2 separate regions of the Homo sapiens genome follow, and region 2 is linked to region 1. The links are contacts of gene promoters, found by promoter capture Hi-C in blood cells and fetal thymus (Javierre and others, 2016). All regions are on one chromosome and are shown on one strand. The core of a region is centred on a gene start or on the middle of the fragment in contact, and the rest is flanking DNA. Distances in the headings are between cores, read along the strand shown.

Region 1 (5,960 bases), core at 2,077-4,576:
TTTAGATCTCACTCCCTATTCACCCATACTCTCTCCAGCCCTAAATGATCACTATTGTACTTTCTGCCTGTACAGATTTCTCTATTTTGGACTTTCATATGAATGGAATAATATATTTGTGACTGGCTTCCTTCACTCAGCATAATGTTTCAAGTTTTGTCTAAGTTGTAGCATATGTCAGTATTTCATTCATTTGCATGGCTGAATATTCCATTACATGAATATACTACATTTTGTTTATTCATTTGTCTACAGCAGGACAGCTTTGACCTTTTGACTGTTTTGAATAATGCTGCTATAGACATTTGTGTACAAGTTTTTGTGTAGACATAGGTTTTTATTTCTCTTGGATATAGACCTAGGAGTGGAATTGTTGGGTCACATGGTAGCTCTATGTTTAATCGTTTAAGGAACTTTCAGACTGTTTTCCAAAGTGGTTGCACCATTTTACTTTCCCACCAGCAGTTTCCACCACCAATTTACATCCTCGCCTGGGTTTACCTTTGGGCAATCTTGCTTTGCCTAGGATGGCAGAATAGAATGACAGAAGGGCAACAGCCCAGTGACACAGTGGAGATCGCACCAGCCCTAGACTGCCTACCTTCCAATTTAAGTGAGAAAAAATAAAGCCCTATTTCATTTAATCCACCGCTATTCCAAGTCTCTGTTAGTAGCTTAACACAAATCCAACTCTTGTGGTCCTATTAGCATATCTTGAATCTGGGAAGCTCTTGAAAAAATTATTGAATTGAATATGTAAAGATTTTTTTCATAGAAAATTTTGTCATCCTGTTGTACACTGGAAAACGCACCTTATTTCTCTCCTAATTTCTGATCCCATCATTCAATAGCCATTCTCCTTAGAAACTGTTTCGGGTTCTCACTAGCACCTTACTGGTGTTCTGCAAGATGGAAACAACAGCTGGTTATTCAGAAACAAATGCAAGTGTTATTGATGGAGCCATTTTATTTAAGGGGAAGGAAAAGTACTCATTGTGGTGATGGAGAATGAGCAGGAGTTGTCTATTATTTCCTTTCTCAAATATTATGCTAAGTGTTAGGACAATAATTAGAATGAAGAAAAATCAGTTAAGGTTTTCTCCTAAACTCTCCGGGAGCCCAAAGAATTTCAGTGCCATGTTGACTACATAATGCTTGTATCATGTATTTGTTCTCTTTTAGACATTGCTTTTGAAGCCACTTTTAGCCTCTGTAACAGGTTAGACTCACAGTCATCGTTTTCACCTTGGAATTCAGAAAGCATAAAAGAAAACTGCGTAATCAGTTGCAGCTCAGCTGTCCCCGTTTTTTCCCTTCATGCTTTTGTTCCAATCATCTGCATTTTGAGGGGATACTTTGAACACACACACAACCTCCCATTCTACTGGCTGTTTTGTAACAGATTTAAATATTTGCCCCAAAGCCAGCCTTTGACCAATGGGGCTTCTGATTAAGTTTTCATGTAACTGGTAGAAAGGAGAACATTACAGAGTCAGGAAAAACTTTTCAGGTGATTTAGTCCTTTCTCAATGCTTCAATTAACTGATGATAACGCTCAGTCAACATTTATCGGGCACCTATGATGTTCATTACGGCACTTCATTCTGTTAAAGAATAATAATCTCTTTATCCTTTTAACTCCCGATAATAGCTTTTTACACATAAATTTACAGTTCTTGGAATCAATGTATCTTAACATATCTTAATCATCTTTCTTTTGTAAGGAAGACTTTCTCATTTTAAAGGCTTTGGGTTTTTTTTCTTACAGCAAAATCATTTGGCTTGCGTTGTTAACACGTTAGTTTGAATTTTTTTTTATAAAAGCCAAATATATATAAGCAATGCTTTTCTCTCTGAAAATTTCTCCTGAATCTTAGCTTTTCAACAATTTGCTATTTTGTAGACCATATTCATGATTTGTTTACTCATACACACTTACTAAGGAGATGTTTACTCAGCTCCAAAATTCGTGTTAAGACTAGGACAGGCTCAAATCTATGACAAACAGAATCCCCAAAGAATAACTTTAAAGGTTATGTAAATTTCTGGAGGTATCTTATTATCTTTCTATTAAAATGTCAACATATTCTATACTTTTTCTCCATCCATTCTGGCAAGACACCATGCTATCTTGAGATTAAGCTAAGTCTCCTGGTTCAGATTCAAATCCCTGCTCAATAATCTCTTTATGGCACTCTGGGCAGTGTCTTCATCTGTGAAATCGGGATAATGATTTTATCTACAGTATTGGGTTGCTGTAAGGATTAAATATAAAGCATACAGCATGTGCCGGACATAGAGCTAGCACTCCATCCATGTTAGCGCAGGATTTCTGATTCGTCAGCATCATTACTCAATAACTATCATTCGGCCCTTTTAAATTGTTTCAGCGACGACTGAATGAACTTATTTATAAATGTATAACATAACTAGGGATGAAGTCATACTACATTGAGGTTTCATTTCCACATAGATAATATTAGGAAGCAGCTATGCCAACACTTTTTCTTCCTGTGATCTGTATACTGCAGGGTCTCTAGAAACAATGGTTTGGTTCTTTCCTGGTGACAAAGGATAAGAGAAGATGAAACTGCTACAAATGGCAATAACTTAAAAATAAAAGATACAGAAATATATGGAAATGAAAAACATATACCTATACATACACAGCTGTTTTTAAAACATGACCTTTATTCTCGAAGCTCAAACTTGATTTCCAGGTACAGCAGGCCTCTGTAACTTTTCTTGGCAGTGAAGTCATGAAGTCTCCTGTCCTCTAAAGCTACAGAAATTTAACCTGGAAGCAAGCAGTAGGCACTACGCACAGCACAGAGGGAACCCTGGGGTGTACGCTGTGGCTCCCACCTGTCCGCCAGGTCATTGTGACGCAAACGCTATGGCCACGTGGAACACCTGCCGGAGAGCAGGGGCGGGGTCACTCTGGGCGGCGGATCCGAGCGGGGGATACCCCAGGAGATGGGGGTCGAGGAGAGACCCCGGGGAGTAGAGAGAGAGAAACTCACTCCCCGAGTCCCCGACCCTCCCCAAGCAAGGTGAGGTCAACGCCACCCACCTTCCCCCGGTCACCCTGGGAGGGGTCGCTCCGGCGGGCGTCTGCTGGAGGGTAGAAGCGGGGAAGGGAGGCAGCGGCGGCGCCCAGGCGGCGGTAGGTAGCCGGGCGGCGAGGGCGCCCGCACCCCCCGGCCGCTGCGCTGCGCTGCGGTGCGCACGGGCTCCGCCGGTTGCTATTCCGGCTGGTGGCGGCCGCCGCAGGAAGGGCCGGTTCCTGCGCTCCCCCCGCCCCTTTCCCTCGCCTTCGGCTGACGCTGACGTCGGATGAGTGATCCGGAGGGACGCTCCGACCGCGGCCGGGAGGCTCCTGGGGGCCGGGGCTCCGAGGTACCTGCCCTCCGGGGTCGGGGCGGGGGCGCGCCGGGCGGGCTGCAGGAAGCAGCAGGAGACGCCCGGCAGCCGGGACGGTCGGGGACGCCTGGTAGGAGCTGCCTTCTCTGCCCTCCGCGGGCGGCGCGTGATAGGCGAGTCGCCTCCTCGGGTCCCGGATCCCGGTGCGGGAACCGCATCAGCCCCTTCCCCTCCCCTCCTCCCTCCGGCCTGGGAAGGTCTGGAGGATGCGCGCGCCGTGAGAGCGTGCGTCAGCCCCGGGGGAGCGGTAGGGAAGCGTTCCGCGCTCCGGCCCCAGCGCTGGGAGCACCGGCACCCATGCCAGCCCACCCCACCCACCCACCGCGCGCCTCGCCTTCCCGGCGGCTCCGGCCCCAGGACCCCGAGCTCCCTGGTGGGCAGGGACTTGCGTCCAGGGTTGACTTGTTGACAAGTTCACCTGCCGCGGCGCCTGGTGTGTGCTTTTTCTCTTCCCCTCCGTGGCCCTTTTTTTGGCAGGGGCGGCAGAGAGCATATGGGTACCTCTTTATAACCACTAGTGCCAGGAGGCCTGAGCTTGGTCCCCCGGGGGCGAGGTGCTCAGCAGTCTCGGACTAGACGGGGCGAGAACCCCTAAGCAACCCCGGTTCCAGCAAACCCTGGCGCGCCCGTTTCCTTTGGGCGCTGCTGACTCCGCCTTTCCTGCTCCGGGGCTATTGCAGCTCCTGCTTCCTCTAGAAACGAACATATCCTGTTGTTATGTCTGCCTTTCCCCCAAAGCGGCTCTCCAGGAACCTTTCCCACTGTCTTTTTACTTGTAGTACCCCCAAAGCACCTGAGCTTCTCTTTGGGGTCTTAAAAGTATCGCGCCCTTATTCTGGCGAAGGGCATTAACTGCCTGGTTGGGGAGAGTTAGTTTGGAAAGAATCGCGTTCTCTTCATTTAGATGGCATTAAAAAATTAGCGCAAGAAAGGGTTTTGTTCATGAATCTTAGTAACCGAGATCTGGTAACGGTATAAAAATTATCAAGGCCTGGAAAATATGTCACCAGCTTGCTTGGGAGTGATACTGAATGTAGGAAGAAAGACACATAAGGCATTTATTGGCCATTAAGGTCCTATAAAATATGACTCATCGCAAACATGTTTTTGTCCATACGTTTCAGTGAAGTCTCTTCGGAAAATCTCAAATTGGTTTCTGTGGCCCTCTGGTTTGAATCTGAGATCTGAACTGTTCTGTGGTTAGGGAGTGAAATAAGAAATGCTTAGTTTGAAATCTAGGCTCCCGATGCAATTTCATACCCCCTGTTTAAAACACACACTCTCTAAAAATGCTTTTAAGTAAGTTTTCAAACCAAAGATATATTTTTAGATTTCAGTCTTTATTTTTGAAACACCCTTTGTAGAGAATACCACAGGGACAAAATCAATTTATAATCCTGAATAGCTCAAATATCACTCTTTGGTTTTATACTAATACTGTACATACATCTTAATTGCAGGAGATGTTGCTTTCTAATTGTTTCTGTTTGTATTACAAAGGGAAATAATTGTACTGTTTATAAAGATGAATCTTTAGAAAACGTAACAGTTAAGCTACAGCGGGCTATTTGTGGAGAGACCTGATGTTAAAAAACGTTAACCCTGTATCCTCCACCCGTGGATCATTGAGTGCTAAAGATACTGGATGGTAATTGCCTGGGTGGTTTATTTTGTAACTATTTTCCCCCATTTGGAACACCTGAGTAACTATCTGACTGCTTTCTCTACGCATCTTTACCGCAGTGCATAAAGATCAATCTCACGAAAAGTATAGAAAATTTTGTTACTCAGAGCCTTCAAAATCAGTACGTTTTCAAGGTATTTGACTAAATAGTACATTTTTTTCAGGTGCAAGCAGCATTAGCGGTATGGAGGTCTGGTAGTTATGCCATAACGTAGAAGGATAAACCTATGTTTGGTATGAACTTTTAAGATTATAGAAACCTCATGCGAGAGAGGGAGGAAGTTAACAGGCCCCAAGTGTCAGGATGAATTTTTCCTCTTCGTTGGTTGAGCCTGAGGGTAGGTGGCAGTGTTTATAATCAGCACGCTGGTCACTAGTGTCCTTTTTTTCCATCTGCATTACTAGATTTATGGGAACCATTAATAAGGATGCTATCTGCATGTTTTGTCCATGAGGCAACATAGATCACTAATGAATCTTATCCCCCAACCCCACCACCATTCGCAATCTGCCTCAGCAGAACTTTAAACTCAAAAAACACTTTTCCCCCGCTTTTTTCTTGATTCCCAAGCTGATACATTTCGTATCACAATCATATCTAACACTCTGAGGGAGTATGGAGGACTCATGGGCTTTGGATCCTGATGGAGCAAAATCAGAATCCCTGCGGTAACACCTAACTAGCCGTGTGACCTTGACCAAGTTACTTAAGTCACCATTTCCTTATCTACAGAACAGGAATATCCACCTTTTTAGGGGCAGGGTGGAGATTAGAGATAATGTATATAAAATGCTTTGCACGCTTTTAAATAGGACTCACTCAGTAGTAATAAATTATTTTTTCACATGCTAA
Region 2 (5,960 bases), core at 2,136-4,635, 500 kb after region 1:
TTTTTGTAACTAATTTTGCAGTTTTAGTAGAGATGGGGTTTCTCCATGTTGGTCAGGCTGGTCTCAAACTCCTGACCTCAGGTGATCTGCCAGCCTCAGCCTCCCAAAGTGCTGGGATTACAGGCGTAAGCCACCACGCCCGGCCTAAATTTCAATCTTAAATATATTTAAATTTTTAAAATTCAAACGTCTTTGTTACTCCAATGACTGGAAAAATGTCATTGGCTTTGCATGTTCTCATTTATAAATGAGAGCTAAACATTGAGCACACATGGACATAAACACAGGAATGACAGACACTGTGGTCTACTGGGGGTGGAGGAGGGAGGAGAATGTGGGCTGAAGAACCACTTATTGAGTACTAGGGTCACTACCCAGGTGATGGGATCCATACCCCAAACCTTAGCATTATGCAATAGTCCCATATAACAAACTTGCGCATGCACCCCTTGTATCTAAAATACAGGCTAAAATTTAATTGAAGAAAAATTAATAAAGAAATAATTTTAAAATGTCATTGGCTTTAATTAAATAAAAAGCACTTCAATTAAATATCAATTATCCATATTTAATATTTTAAATACTACCTATGTTTATGACAGTAATATACATTTTTCCCTACTAGGCTGTTTATAACTTGTATCCTATGCTCAAAACATTTAAAAATATAATTTGGCTAGAGAATTTCAGGATATTTATTTCCTAAATACTAGGTTTCCATAAACATAAAACTCCTGTTTTATATCATTGTTTATTTAATATCACTCTGATATTCTCTATTTTCGTTTAAGAGTGCCGGCTTAAAAGCATTTAAAACAATCAAACCTGCTAAAATTAATGTTATTCAATGCATTTTAAATTAAATCCATTAAATCTTACATATATGTAATGTGCTTTCAACTCATGAAGCCTTCGACGAAAACAAATTCTAATCCAGCCCAGGAAAGTGAAGAGTTAAGTGTGCAATTTAGGAAAGAAATATGGCAAGTCCATATATGTGACTCAGTCTTCGAGTGATGTTTATATCACTCTAAGACAGGGAATCCTGTCTCTGTCTGCACTATATTATGATCCTTGTCATCGCCTGCCCTGGAGCAGTTGCATATGCATCTACTTCTCCCACTAAGCAAGTCTCTCTTGAAGGGCAGAAGCAAACGAAACCTTTGTAATTTCCATGAGGCATCCCATAGCAATTTGCACAAAGCAGTCACACAATCAATGTTAAGTTATCAGAAGAGCAAAGTTCTTGACTTTGCCTTAACACACAAGACCCACGAAAAATGAAAGGAAAAGTAACTTACACACATGGGGTGGGGTTAGTGGTAGTGGTGGTAAGAATGTTAGCAAGAAACCTCGAATGAAAATATTAAAATGTGTTGTGACTTAATCAGTCACTGATGTACTTAAACAAGAGTCAAGATTTTTTTTTAAGTAACTTTTCATACTTCCCAAGTTAGAAGCTGGGGAAGCTTCATTATTTTGTTTGAAAGTTCTCCGAATTAGACACACCCATATGACACAGCCAATGTAAATAATTTGTTCTCCTGGTGTTGCCACTGCTGAACAATGATGAACGGATCAACAGTACAGATATTCCCCAAGGAAGAGTGACCTACTGTGTAAAAAATACATCCCGAAACAAGGAACTGTATTTAGGATAGGTTTCTACTTTCTGAATTCTGGCACGCCCTTAGTCCCTAACTGCCTATGAATCAGTCTCCTGAAAAACCTGCAACTGATCTTTCAAAAGCAATGCAATTCAATTAAACAAACATTTATTGAGCGCCCACTGTATAAAAAAGCACAAGAATGGAAACTGAGGGAAAAGGGCCTGCAAAGGAGACGGATAAGAAGCAACGTTCAGAATAGAAAGAAAAGATACAGAAGAGAGGGGTGTATGGAATACAAAAGAGGAACTGGTCAACATTCTCAGATGTCACAAGGGGGGAGAGCTGAGATTCTAGAAGAAAAGGTATCAAAATTCTTACTAAGTAAATGCAAACAATTGGGATCAATAAATAATAAGATGAGTGTCTTTCCATGTAAAGAATGATTCTGCCTTATAAATCTATTCCCCAATAATAAGTTCTAGTTCTATTAATGTCACTACTAACCTCCCTACCATCCAAACTTGAGATTTCTTCCTTTTCCTTTTAATAAGAAATGTGATCCGTTACCAAGTCCTATTACTCGCACCCACAAAATTTGTGTACTGCACAAGGATGTGAAAAGGAGAGGAGCATTGAAACCAAAGACATATCTTTAATAATTTTCCAGCAGATGGCAGTCAAGTGTCTTATTCTAATAAACATATTACAACAATTTTCTAACAGATGGAAGTAAAATGTCTTAAAGAAGTGGTACTTTTTTTTTTTTAGTTAGGTCTCACTTTTATCACCCAGGATGGAGTACAGTGACACGATCACAGCTCACTGTATCCTTGACCTCCTGGACTCTGGTGAGTCTCCTAAATCAGCCTCCCGAGTAGCTGGGACCACAGGCACATACCACCATATTGGCTAATTTTTTGTATATTTTGTAGAGACAGGGTTTTACCGTGTTGTCTGAGCTGAACTTGAATTCCTGGGCTCAAGCAATCTGCCCACCTTGGCCTCCCAAAGTACTAGGATTACAGGCGTCAGCCACCGTGCCCAGCTGGGGTGACCTTTTCATAATTCACAAAATGCACTAAGCAGGTCAGTGGTGGTCCTGCCCACAGTATTTCCTATCTATTTTCCAGCCTTCATTCTGGCTGCAGCTACCACAGATCTGATTCACATAGTATCTTGCAATAGCTTCCAAAATGATCCCCTAATTTCTCCATACTTCAGTCCATCCCACAAGCATTTGAAAAAATTCCCAAAAGTGCTGTTTTGCTAGTAAAACTTTTCAAAAAATCTTCAGTGGTACTGTTATTTTCTTCAATCTCACATTCAAGGCCCTTCATAGCATGTCCTTAACCTTCTCTTTTAGTCTATTCTTTCACTGTGCCCAGGAGGTGCCCTACTCCTAGCTGAACCTAATTACTCTCTACCTTACATATGTCCTGTCCTTCCCTGCCTTGCTATCTTTGTTCATGTCATTTCCTCTGCCTTGAATGCTATCCAAACTCAGTCTTCCTGCCATAAGTGCTAAATTACATTCAGTAGTATATTCTGGGGAGAGGTTTTTGGATGACTTAATATTGTCTTCAGCAAGCATCTAAAGAAAAATCCCCTCACTTTGGCTTTGGTTGGTATTCCAGTTATCTATTGGTGTATAATAAACTACTTATAACTCAAGACAATTATTATTATTATTATTATTATTATTATTATTATTATTATTTTGTATTTTTTTGTATTTTTAGTAGAGACAGGGTTTCACCGTGTTAGCCAGGATGGTTATTTGTATTATATCTCACAGCTCTGTGAGTCAAAAATTCGGGCAGAGCTTGAGCATTTCTTCTGTTCTGTGTAGTGATGTTAGAGGTTGCTCTAGGGTACTGGTAGTCAGAAAACAGTTGAAGGACAACTTCACTCACATTTGGTAGAATGGCTAGAAAGTTGGGTTCAGCTGGGAACGTCAACCAGATCATCTATACACATGCCTCTACAGCATGATGGCCTCAAGCTGGTTGGACTTCTTAAATGGTGGCTCCGGGCTCCAAGAGCAAGTGTTCCAGAAAACAAAGCAGAAGTCACATGGCCTTTTGCAACTGACCCTTGTAAGCCAGGGTCTCTTTGGCCATATTCTATTGACTGAGGCAGTCATCAGCTCGTCTAGATTCAAGAGGAGGGGGCGTCGACACAACTTTTCAATGGGAGAGTGTCAAAGAATATGCAGCCATGTTTTAACACTGCCTAAGTTAGGGAAGAAGGGGGATAATATGGCAGACTGTCTCCCAGAAAGTCTGAGCCACTTCTCTTACTGTTCCCTGAATATGTCATGGTCTTATACTTTTTCCCCTCGTATATCTTTCCTCTGCCTGGAAAGCATCTCCATTCCTCCTTCTTCCCTACAAGCATGTCTAATTGTCATACACCTTTAAGGTCTTCATCCCTAAAGGACCAGCTTAAATTTCCCTTCCTCCAAGACTCCTTCCTAGATCCTTTCAGTCAGTTTTAATCTCGTTTCAGGTTCCCTGGTACTTTTTTCTTCATGATAGTACTTTTCCCATTTACAATTTTACATTAGATTTTCATTTATGTACGAAGCAAAAAAGAGAGAAAGGCAAAAAGAAAAATAGAATGCTGTAAGCCCCGTGGCCTTGTAAATTCTCAGTCAAGTTTAAAGAGGGCGCAAAATGCTCGATGTAACCGGACTCTTATGGAATCAAGTAGAGGGCCTGAGTCCTCTGTCCAGGCTGATGCCGGATGAAGGTGACCCAGCACATGTAGACAACATACTTTAAAATATATTATTTATATGTTTATTCTAAATTAATAGCAGTTGTAATTCCTGTAGAGTCCAGGAAAGATAAACAAACTTGGGGAGAAGGAAGGTTTAGTGTCCTGTGTCCTGCTTAATGATAGTTTCTAACACTACATACACTTTTGTCCTCAAAAATGTTGCAAATGGAAGTTTCTCATGTCAGAGTAAAATCCATATCCGGCATAATCTACTGAAGAGATATACTAATGGGCCTGTGAGGTAACACAAACAACAAAAGCCAGTAATTCAAGCTATCCAGTTTAAATAACCATGTAAGAAGTGCAATTTTGAGCTAGAAAAGATCTAGTTCAATCTTATGATGAAAAATCTGAGGCCCACAGAATTTGACTAGTCCCCAAAGAACTCATTTTCTGTATAAAAACAAACACAACAAAACCAAAGCTACAAAGATCCGTGAAGCAAGATATGTACAAAAACTTGTGTGGCAGTATTGTCTCTAACAGGGTGGGGAGAGAGAGAGTGTCCACAAATGCCCACCACTCGGAGAAAGGATAAACTGTGGTACCTTCATACAAAGAAACATTACGCAGGAGTCAAAATTAATGAACTAGAGCTACAAACATCAACATGTATAAATCTGAAAAATGCAACATTGAATAAGAAGGTAAATTGCAGAATACAAAGAAAATGACAAGACTTATATAAAATGTTTAAATAAGTAAAACGGTACTTTAAATAGGTTGGAACTACACACCATATATGGTAAAAGTATAAGAAAATGGCATGGGAATGAATGGCTTCTTCAATGGAGGCTGAAGGTGCAGAGGCAGCTTCCACAGTATCCACCCACTATGTTTTCTTTCTAAAGCTGGATGGTAGGTATGTGGATGTTGGTTGTATTATACTTTATAACTTTTATAAAGCTTAATTATTATATAAAAAAATTTAAAGATAAAAAGATGGGTAAAAACAGCTTTTACACTTTCTTAAGATCTTCGCTATAAAAATTCAGCATAAACAGAGGGAAATAAAGATTAGGCAGTCTACATAGGGAATGATTCAAGACCACTGGGATAGGCTACGTGAGAAAAAGGGAAAGCAAAGACGACTCTAGTTCTCAAAATAAGGTAAGAAAAACAAACCAAAAATCCAGCCAAGGCCAAACGCGGTGGCTCATGCCCGTAACCATAGCACACTGGGAGGCTTGGCAGAACGACTGCTTGAGCCCAGGAGTTCAAGACCAGCCTGGTCAACATAGGGAGAACCCTGTCTCTAATTAAAAATAATAATAATAATGTAAAAATAATTTTAAAAAAACCCAAACAAGCAAGCACATTTTAAAAATCTTAAATAAACCACATCCCAGATTCCTCCCTCTACTTTTGCATTTCTGTTTTATGAGTGACCCCTACCCCAAAACTTCCACTCTAGACAAACCATAAGAAGATAGGATCAAACACAACACAACACAGAACCCTGCTGCGGCCTCTGGAATGGTGGCGGGAGTGGAACCAACAGCATAACTAAGACTTAGTGGGCATATATTACGTACCAGGCATTGAAAGCTTTGAGCTTTTTCTGCATTC

The links. Contacts are between HindIII fragments. The CHiCAGO score rates a contact against its expected background, and 5 or more counts as called.
Region 2: a fragment that was not itself captured here is called in contact with the fragment with the promoter of ICA1 in region 1 in 1 of 17 cell types (M1 macrophages); the score reaches 7.0 in M1 macrophages.

The regions. Positions count from the first base shown.
Region 1 is chr7:8,259,533-8,265,492 of GRCh38, reverse strand. It overlaps ICA1 (islet cell autoantigen 1), which reads left to right and starts at 3,326. Exons shown (of 14, transcript NM_001136020.3): 1 at 3,326-3,399. It overlaps ICA1-AS1 (ICA1 antisense RNA 1), which reads right to left and starts at 3,268. Exons shown (of 6, transcript NR_125740.1): 1 at 3,074-3,268; 2 at 2,667-2,913; 3 at 813-902. The HindIII fragment of the contact is 9,065 bases long and covers 1-5,960 here.
Region 2 is chr7:7,757,780-7,763,739 of GRCh38, reverse strand. The region is part of intron 2 of UMAD1 (UBAP1-MVB12-associated (UMA) domain containing 1); the gene reads right to left. Among named protein-coding and RNA genes, the nearest start is that of RPA3, 42 kb to the right of the region's middle. The HindIII fragment of the contact is 3,828 bases long and covers 1,472-5,299 here.